Regions from separate parts of the Homo sapiens genome. Here regions 2 and 3 are each linked to region 1. The links are contacts of gene promoters, found by promoter capture Hi-C in human tissues and cell types (Jung and others, 2019). All regions are on one chromosome and are shown on one strand. Each heading gives the region's core, a stretch centred on a gene start or on the middle of the fragment in contact. The rest is flanking DNA. Distances are from core to core; before and after follow the strand shown. Region 1 holds the start of SULT2B1 (sulfotransferase family 2B member 1). Region 2 overlaps CARD8 (caspase recruitment domain family member 8). Region 3 holds the start of CABP5 (calcium binding protein 5).

What was found. The method cuts DNA at HindIII sites, captures the fragments that hold promoters and counts their contacts. A contact is called where the count stands out against the background at its distance.
Region 2: a contact is called between a fragment that was not itself captured here and the fragment with the promoter of SULT2B1 in region 1, in 1 of the 25 tissues and cell types used here (dorsolateral prefrontal cortex).
Region 3: a contact is called between the fragment with the promoter of CABP5 here and the fragment with the promoter of SULT2B1 in region 1, in 1 of the 25 tissues and cell types used here (dorsolateral prefrontal cortex).

The regions. Positions count from the first base shown.
Region 1 is chr19:48,550,811-48,553,892 of GRCh38, forward strand. It overlaps SULT2B1 (sulfotransferase family 2B member 1), which reads left to right and starts at 1,362. Exons shown (of 7, transcript NM_177973.2): 1 at 1,362-1,513. The coding sequence starts at 1,443. RefSeq lists an enhancer at 782-1,306. The HindIII fragment of the contact is 26,692 bases long and covers 1-3,082 here.
Region 2 is chr19:48,211,737-48,214,808 of GRCh38, forward strand. CARD8 (caspase recruitment domain family member 8) reads right to left here. Exons shown (of 14, transcript NM_001184900.3): 14 at 1-239. Among named protein-coding and RNA genes, the nearest start is that of CARD8-AS1, 42 kb to the right of the region's middle. The HindIII fragment of the contact is 3,277 bases long and covers 1-3,072 here.
Region 3 is chr19:48,042,756-48,045,563 of GRCh38, forward strand. CABP5 (calcium binding protein 5) reads right to left here and starts at 1,324. Exons shown (of 6, transcript NM_019855.5): 1 at 1,105-1,324. The coding sequence starts at 1,167. The HindIII fragment of the contact is 5,918 bases long and covers 1-2,808 here.

The DNA.
Region 1 (3,082 bases), core at 112-2,611:
TGACCTCAGGCGATTCACCCGCCTCGGCCTCCCAAAGTGCTGGAATTACAGGCGTGAGCCATTGCACAGGCTTTCTTTTGGCATTTTTTTTTTTTTTTTGAGATGGAGTCTCTCTCTGTCGCCCAGGCTGCAGTGCAGTGATGTGATCTCAGCTCACTCCAACCTCCACCTCCCAGGTTCAAGCGATTCTCGTGTCTCAGCCTCCCAAGTAGCTGGGATTACAGGCACCTGCCACCACTGGTGGGGAGACTGGCTTCATGACTCCAGGACTCTGAGGGGTCAGGGACCAACAGCTGGGGAGGGCCAGGGTTTGGGGTGGGGGCAGAAGAGAAGAGAACACCGTCTATGCTGAGCTCACTGTGTACCAGATCCTCCACCAGCAGCTGAGAGTGTCTCCCTCAGTCCTCACAACAGCCCGATGGGTGCCATTCACAGATGGGGAAACTAAGGCAAGATGAGCCTATGAGCAAGATGGTTCCCGGCCCCACAGCTGGGAGGCACTGGAGCTGGGATTTGAACCAGGGCTGTGACCTTCAGACTCTCACGCCCAACCATATCTGGCAGTTGTCTCTCATATCTGTGTCTCTCCCTGTCCCTGACCTTTCTATGTATCTCTGTCTCTGCCCTCTGTATATCGCTGCTGGGTCTCTCAGGGTCTCTGACCCCTGTGTGTCTCTGTCTCCTCTGGGTGTCCGTGTGTCTCTGTCTCCGCCCTCCGTGTATCTCTGTTGCGTCTCTCAAGGTCTCTGGCCCCTGTGCATCTCAGTCCCCTCCTGGTCTCTGTCTCCCATGCCCTCTGCCCTCTCCCTTTCTCCCTGGCTCCCGCCCTGTCTGTGCTGCCGTGGTCCTGGCTGTGCCTCTGTCCCTGTGTCTGTTTCCAGGGTGCCCCTTACGCGTCAGCCCGTGAGGGCAAGTTTCTGTCTGCCCCTTCCCCAGCGGTGGCCTAGTGCTTGGAACAGCGCCTGGCAGACAGGAGATGCTCAGTAAATATTTCTCAAATGAATAAAGGAATGAATGAGTGAATGAATGAATGAATGAATGAACTCGCTGAGATGGGCGAGATCAGCGCCATTTCCCAAATGAGCAACGTGGGCTCCAGGTGGGTGCCCACAGGCCCAGAACTGCCAGCCCGGAAGGTTCTGGCGTGGGCTTGGCACTGACCCCCTGGACTCTGCCCCCAGCTGAGCACCAGACGCCAGGACGTGCCCATCACTGCTCCTCCCCGCCCTCAGAGCAGGGTGGCTCCCTCTGGCCTCTCCCCGCTGTTGGAGGCGTGGGTAGCAGCTGGGAGAACCGGCTGGGTGCTGCCCCTCCCCTTGGGCCGGGCACGGAGTAGGCACCTGGCGGGCTCCCCAGGTGGCAGACGCTGTCGCTGCGCACACCTGGCCTCTGTGCCGCCTGCTCCCTGCTCGTCCTCCCCTCCCCACCCTCACCCACCTGCCATGGACGGGCCCGCCGAGCCCCAGATCCCGGGCTTGTGGGACACCTATGAAGATGACATCTCGGAAATCAGGTGAGGCCCAGACCTGGGCAGGAGCCAGGAGATCCCAGGGAGGAGGTGGCTGTTTGGGGGAGCCGGGGACTGTGGCAAGGGTGGCCTCCAGCCACCCGCAGCCGCAGGCCTGGCCCAGACTTAGCTGGAGGGGCTGGGCTGGGCTGGGGCATCCAGTGTGGTGTATAGGTCCCTCCTGAGAAGGGAGTGAGGACCCGACCGTGTTGAGTCACCAGTGGGGATGCCTGGGGTGTCCCTGTCGCTCTCCGGGCCTCAGTTTTTCTGTCTGTCAAAGGGGCCCACAAGCCCTGTGTCTCCCTGATAGAGCAGTGGAAGAGAGCAGGCAGCTTGGTGCATAGTAGTTGCTCAGGAAACACAACAGCCTGTAGTACCCAGGACACCCCATGCAAGCCCTGAAATAACGGGGGTGCTTGGGGGTGAAATGGGAGAGACTGGGATGCTGCTGAGACCCCCAGAGGGAGAAGCTGTGTTCTAGGGCACTTGGGGCGGAGAGGGCAGGCTCTGGACTCTTCAGGTCTCCTAACAGTGGTTAGGGCAGAGCACTGCCCACTTCCATGAGCTCAGCGTGACTCCCTCTTCCTGGGGATGAGTCAGACACTTTGACAGTACCTGCTTTCCAGATGGGGAAACTGAGGCTGGGAGGGAACGCGACATGACCGCAATTACGCAGCTAGAAGCAAATCTGAACCCGGTCTGTCTCACGCCAGAGCCTGTGGTTTCTCCTGCTCCTCACAGCCTTGGTGATGTCCCCTTTACACCCCTCCCCGTGGCTCCATCTTTTAGGGGAGCGCAGAGGCCCAGAGAGGGCAGGCAGCCTGCCCCAGATCACACAGCAAACTGCTGAGACAATCTCCAACCCCTCGTATCTTGCACTCTTGCCAAGTGAGACCTTCCTGGCAGCCTGGGCCCCTCCAGCCACCGTGGGCTGTGAGGAGGGAGACAACCAAGACCTGTTCTCAGCCCAGTTGCCTCATTCCTTTCTTATTTTATTTTATTTTTTTGAAATGGAGTTTCGCTCTTGTTGCCCAGGCTGGAGTGCAATGGCACGATATCAGCTCACTGCAGCCTCCGCGTCCTGGGTTCAAGTGATTCTCCAGCCTCAGCTTCCCAAGTAACTGGGATTACAGGAGCCCGCCACCATGCCCGGCTAATTTTATTTTTGTATTTTTAGTAGAGAAAGGGTTTCACCATGTCGGCCAGGCTGTTCTTGAACTCCTTGCCTCAGGTGATCCACCTGCCTCGGCCTCCCAAAGTGCTGGGATTACAGGCGTGGGCCACCACGCCTGGCCGCCTCATTTCATTCCACTGTTTCAGGCCCTCCCCTCCCCTCCCTCAGCCAGAAGCTGGGGCATGAAGAGGCCTTCCTGGGTGCCTGGGACTCCAGAGACAGGAGCAGTTCAATCCTGATTGCTGTGTGACCTAGACAAGCTTCCTGATGTCTCTGGGCCTCCTGGGCTGAGAGCTGTGACCAGGCTGGCCCAGTTCTGCGTGAGGGAGGCCCCAGCATTCTTTACTCAACATTGTCTAATCCAGGACTTCTGAGTTCTGCAATTCTTCTCTCCAGAGATA
Region 2 (3,072 bases), core at 311-2,810, 340 kb before region 1:
CACGAGGTAAGGGTCCCTTTCACTAATGCTTCTGAAGAGCACGTCCAGGGCCAGGTCCCCTTTCTTCTCCACCATGCTCAGCAAGGCCTCATTCTTGCTCTGCCGTGTCTTTTCCTGCTCCACCAGCTCCTTCTCATTCTCAGTAAGAACCTCATTGTCTTGGAGATCATCGAGCACCCCTTTCAGGTCCCCCATCCTGGCTTGGAGTTGCCGGTGGTTCTCCTTCACAAAGGCTGCACCTGGATGAAAGGGGGAGTTTCAGACTTTGAGAATCGTTCACTTACAGGATTCAGGATCTATACCAAGCTTAGAGTCAAAATTCAGGGGTGGGAGATTGCTCCTTGTGTCTGTAGCTTAATTTGTGGACATACAAAATCACACACATTCACAGAGCAAATATACCCTTTGCAGTATCAAATGCATTGAGGTGTCTCAAATAATGTATCTTCCTCAGTCCTACTCCTCTCATCCATTTCTTGAAGCCTGTTTCTTCCTAGTTGGTGTTTTTCATTGAAATCCTAGACAGAGCTCTATCTTGCTGTACATACATTTATATATAAATCCCTCTAACAACGAAACACAAATCTTCTAGTTCATACATTGTCAGAAACTGTGCATGATGCTAGAGGTATGGAGAAGGATTCAGCTGGATCCCCAAAGCTTAGCTGGCAGAGCTATGAAAGAAGAGATTTAACTGGAGACATACAATGCATAGAAAAGGAAGAACAGGGGAAAAGATACAGACTTTTTTCCATCATGTAGACTCAGGGTTTACGTTGTGCCCCATATAATGTCTGTATAAACTTGGCCAAATCATATTACTTCCATATCACGTGGTTTAGAATGCATGGAGGTTGAGGTGTGATTTTGACTCAAGACATGTTCTGGACCAGCTTCCTGTAGACTGAGCTACTAAGCTTTGATTTCAACGTGCAGGCAACAGGTGCTATATTTTGCTCCACATCCTAAACATTATATTTAGGAAGGGTAGAAGCCTTTTGTTGGTGCTGCTCAGCCTGCAGTCACCACCTACAGAGATGTTCTTTGATTTATTTTAGGACGTCACCTTTATCTGATTCTTAACCAAGCTCCTTAGCTGATCCTCATTGCACCTCCAGATGTGAGGCATGATTTCTTTTTATTTAATCTGCCTCAATGGCCTTCCAGGCAACAACAGCTAGGAAATGGCATGATTGCCATCTCAGAAGGTGCTCTCTTTTTTCTCCCAGTGGTCTGTTTTGAGACATGAGTTCGGAAACTTACACTGTGTGGAGCCTGACAATGAAGCCAACAATATGGAAGGCGGGACGAAGACATGGAGAAACATTCCTCCCTTGTGATGTTGTTTGAGCCCATGAATCAGCCTCCCTGGAGTCAGTCCCACATCTCTTCCTTGAACTCGCCTGAGCCATGACACTCTTGATAATTTCACTCCATTTAAGTTGGACTTTCTGTCATTTGCCACACAAGACTTTACACAGATCCAGAGGACATTGCAGATTGCTGCCTTGGGTGATTTTTAAAATTAACGTGGACATGAAGTCATCAGGAGACAAGGAGTTCCAAACCTGGATTTATTGCTTACTAGATGATGGAAACTTGGTCCTCTCAGTGTTAACTCTATTTTATTTATTTACTTATTTATTTATTTATTTTGAGACAAAGTCTCACTCTTGTCCCCAGGCTGGAGTGCGATGGCACGATCTCGGCTTACTGCAATCTCCGCCCCTGGGTTCAAGCGATTCTCCTGCCTCAGCCCCCCGAGTAGCTGGGATCACAGGCATGTGCCACCACGCCCAGCTAGTTTTTGTATTTTTAGTAGAGGCAGGGTTTCACCATGTTGGCCAGGCTGGTCTCAAACTCCTGACCTCAGGTGATCCACCTGCCTCGGCCTCCCAAAGTGTTGGGATTACAAGTGTGAGCCACTGCACCCAGCCAACTCTTTATATTAAATAATGTAAATAATTTTTTCTCTGCTATATACTAATTCCAGTGTCCTTAACAGATCCTTGGCTGATATCTGCTCTTCACTTTTACAACAGCCCCACCGTTCCCCACTTCCTATTCATTCCCAACCCACACTCAATCATCCACGCTGTTTTGAAGAGCCAACACATTGTTATCCATCCTTTAATAGTTACTCTTGCCTTTCCGTCTAAAGTCCAAAATATTTCAACTTTTATTCTTGGACTTTCAACTGCCAGCTCTTGACTATCCTTCTCATGTCACCTTTACTCTGTCCCTCTAACAGTTTAATTCACAGCCATATCAAACTACTTTAACTTAGAGTTCCCCAGACGCAAGATATTAAATATTTACCCCCAATAATTTGCTGTTGTATGCTCTTTTGTGTCTACATGATGTCCTCACGCCCTTCTGGGACTAAATCATACTCATTGTCTGTATTTATGACATCAGTCATTCTTGGCAGATGACAAGGATGGAAGGAATGGAGCCTTGCTGAGAGATGCTGTTACAGCAGGCAGCTCGTCAGATATGAGCAGGGCAGGAGAGGACTCCTCACCCCACCAGAAATGTCAGGCAACCATCAGGTGATGGTCAGGCAGTTGTTACACCGTCTCTCTAAAATAATAATTGGTTGCAGCCGGCACCAGGGAAAGGCCGTCTCCTGACAGAGAGAAAACACCTGAAACTGGTGATCAGCAGCTTCCCAATAAGATCTCGGGAACTGGGCCAGTGGGCTCAAGAATGTGCATTAAGAGCAGAGTTTAACTGGCCTATAACCTCTTACGGAGGTTGAGCTGGTAAGGGAAGAATGCCTCAAGTGAGCATGCGTATGACTCCAAGAAACACACTGCGCATGCTCCCCTTCCAAGCCCCTGCGGGCCACTATGCAGGCGACCAGCCCACCCCAGGGGAAGAATCAGGGAAGAAGGGATGCAAGACCCCGGAAGTGTGCCAACATATTAAACCCCAAGTCAAAAGGTCAAACCGTGCACTTGTCTTTCAAGTCACCCCCTCGGCCGTCTTCCAAGTGTACTTTCCTCCTTCCTTTCATTCCTGCTATAAAGCTTTTTTTTTTTTTTTTTTTTTTTTTTTTTTTTTTGTAGA
Region 3 (2,808 bases), core at 74-2,573, 510 kb before region 1:
ATAGAGACAGGGTTTCACCATCTTGGCCAGGCTGGTCTTGACCTCCTGACCTCGTGATCCACCTGCTTTGGCCTCCCAAAGGGCTGGGATCACAGGCGTGAGCCACTGCCTGGCCTTTTTTATTCTCTTTTTTTGGTGATCTTAAAGCCTAACAATGAAAAGTATGCCCACATATCTGGACAAGTTGGTATATATGGAAAAATAAAAAAATTTTAAAAAGCATGCCCACAGGAATCAAGCAAACCCGACCCTGCCACTTACTTTTTTTTAACGAGACAAAGTCTCACTTTGTTGCCCAGGCTGGAGTGCAGTGGCATAATCAGGGCTCACTGCAGCCTCCACTTCCTGGGCTCAAGCGATCCTCCTGCCTCAGCCACCTGAGTAGCTGGGACTGCAGATGCATGCCACCATGCTGAGCTATTTTTTTGTATTTTTAGTAGAGATGGGGTCTTGTGTTTCCCAGGCTGGTCTCAAACTCCTGGACATAAGTGATCCTCCCGCCTCTGCCTCCCAAGATGCTGCGATTCAGGCATGAGCCACTATACTTGGCCGACCCTGCCACTTACTAACTGTGTAAGCTTAAGGCAAATGACTTCATGACTCAGAGCTTCACTTTCCTCACCTGTAAAATGGGAATGAAAGTCACTGACCTCATGAGTTGTTCTGAGGTGTAAATAACATCAGGTGTGCAAATCCCTTTGCACAGGGCTGGGCACAGAACAATGACTTAATAAGTGGCAGCTATTGTTATTAACGTCATCATTATCATCACCACCACCACCATCATCACCACCATTATCACAATGAGCATCCATAGAAAAGAATGATGGTAATCTCAACAATGACATCATCCCACTTTCCCTTTTCATTTTTCTTCCTTTTCTCTCCTTCTCTTTGCTCCTGACTTTTGATTTTACCCCCACCCATTTATCTCACTGGCTTACATGACCCCACCAGGGTCCTTGGAATTTCTTATACCTTCTCAGCTCCTGCTCTATCCACCTGTTCCCCTGGTTCTGTGGCACCATCATGTCCCCTTCTTTGTCCCACACCCCTGCTCCCTTTGCCCCGCCCACCGCCCTTCCCCCTCACTCCCCACCTCACCCGCTGTTTCTCAGCAATGCCTTTCCTCAAGAAGATGCAGGCGGGGCCCATGGGGAACTGCATGGAGGGGTGGGGTGGAGCTCGCAGGGCACCAGTCTCAAGATGGCCCCTCCTCCCTGCTCCCTGTCGGAGCTCAGCCTCCTTATCTTCTCCAGCACTCCTTTGCCACCTCTTCCTGCCTCTCTTGGCTTCTCCTTCGGTCCCGGTGTCTTAGAGCTGTGACAGCTGGGCTGGAAATCTCTACCCGGGTTGGGGAGGGACCAGAGCTGTCCCTGCCTCCCCATCTGGCTTGAATGATATGGGTGGGGAAATGCAGAGTCAGGTTCTGTGACGCCTTTATCCCCAGAGTGGAATTGGAAAGTGCATTTTATAAATGGGGATTAGAGGCTGGATGTGGTGCTCATGTCTGTAGTCCCAGCGCTTTGGGAGGCTGAGGTGGGAGGATTGCTTGAGCCCAGGAGTTTGAGACCAGCTGAGCAACATACGGAGAGGCTGTCTTTACAAAAAATAAAAAAATTAGCCGTGCATGGTGGCACACACCTGTAGTCCCAGCTGCTCCAAAGGCAGAGATGGGAGGATTGCTTGAGCCCAGGAGTTCAAGGCTGCAGTGAGCTATGATTGTACCATTGCACTCCAGGCTGCAGTGAACTACGATTGCACCATTGTACTCCAGCCTGGCTGACATAGTGAGACCCTGTCTCGAAAAAAAGAAAAAAAAAGAAAAAAAAGAAAAGAAAATGGAGGATTAGAGCAGACGGCATCATTTATTCAATGTTCCAACAAGCATGTGAAGGGTCACTCCAACACTGGCCTCTGGGCAGTGAGATGGAGAGCTCAGCACCCCTGGCCTCAGGGAGTTTTCCTGGGTGAGTCGGGAATGTGTGAGAGTGAGCAGGATGCAAGCATGGACTTCAGGAAGTGGGCGTACACGGTGACTAAGAGCATGGCATTTGCTCTTCCTCTGTTCATCTCTTTCCTTCTGTCTTTCCTGAATGATTTAGAGGGAAAAAGCAAGGTGGGGGTGTCAGGGAGGGTGTGAAGTTATGGTGGTGTCAAAGCCCAAAGGGGTTTTGCGACTCCACACTAGGTAGGGTTAGGGGAGGAGGGGGCTGGGGGCCATCTGGCGTGGAGAGCCAGCATTCCAGTGGGGTAGTGGGGTGAGGAGAAGTCCACATAGAGGGGCAGCATGACCCAGGGTGTTGGGGCTGGAGATGGTGGGGATAAATCCACAGATGGGCAGCTTGGTGTGCAGTGTTGGAACATGAGCTGAGTGGGGCGGGGGCATTTATATGCAGGCATTGTCTGGGGTGGAGGTTTGCACTGTAAGGCAATTAGGAAGGAGGCCACATAGAGGGGATCTGGCATGGGTTGTCATAACCCAAGCAGAGAGAGAAATGTCCACTCATGGGAATAGCATGGTGTATGGTGTTGAAGCCAGACTAGGCTGGGAAAGACATCCCCACAGGGGTGAAATGGCAAAGGAAAAGGGAAATTGGCTACACACAGTGAGTAAGGGGAATGGGGGCCAGGTCTCCTACTGTTGGAAAAGGGAGTTACTAAGACAGAAAGGAGGAAAGTCGAATGAGCCCTGTGGTGTTGGACTATAACTGGAGGCGTTGGTATGTCCTCATGGATCTCAATTATACATAGAGAGATAAAAATAAACACATAGTTTCAGTGTGTATAGGAACATTTGTACACATA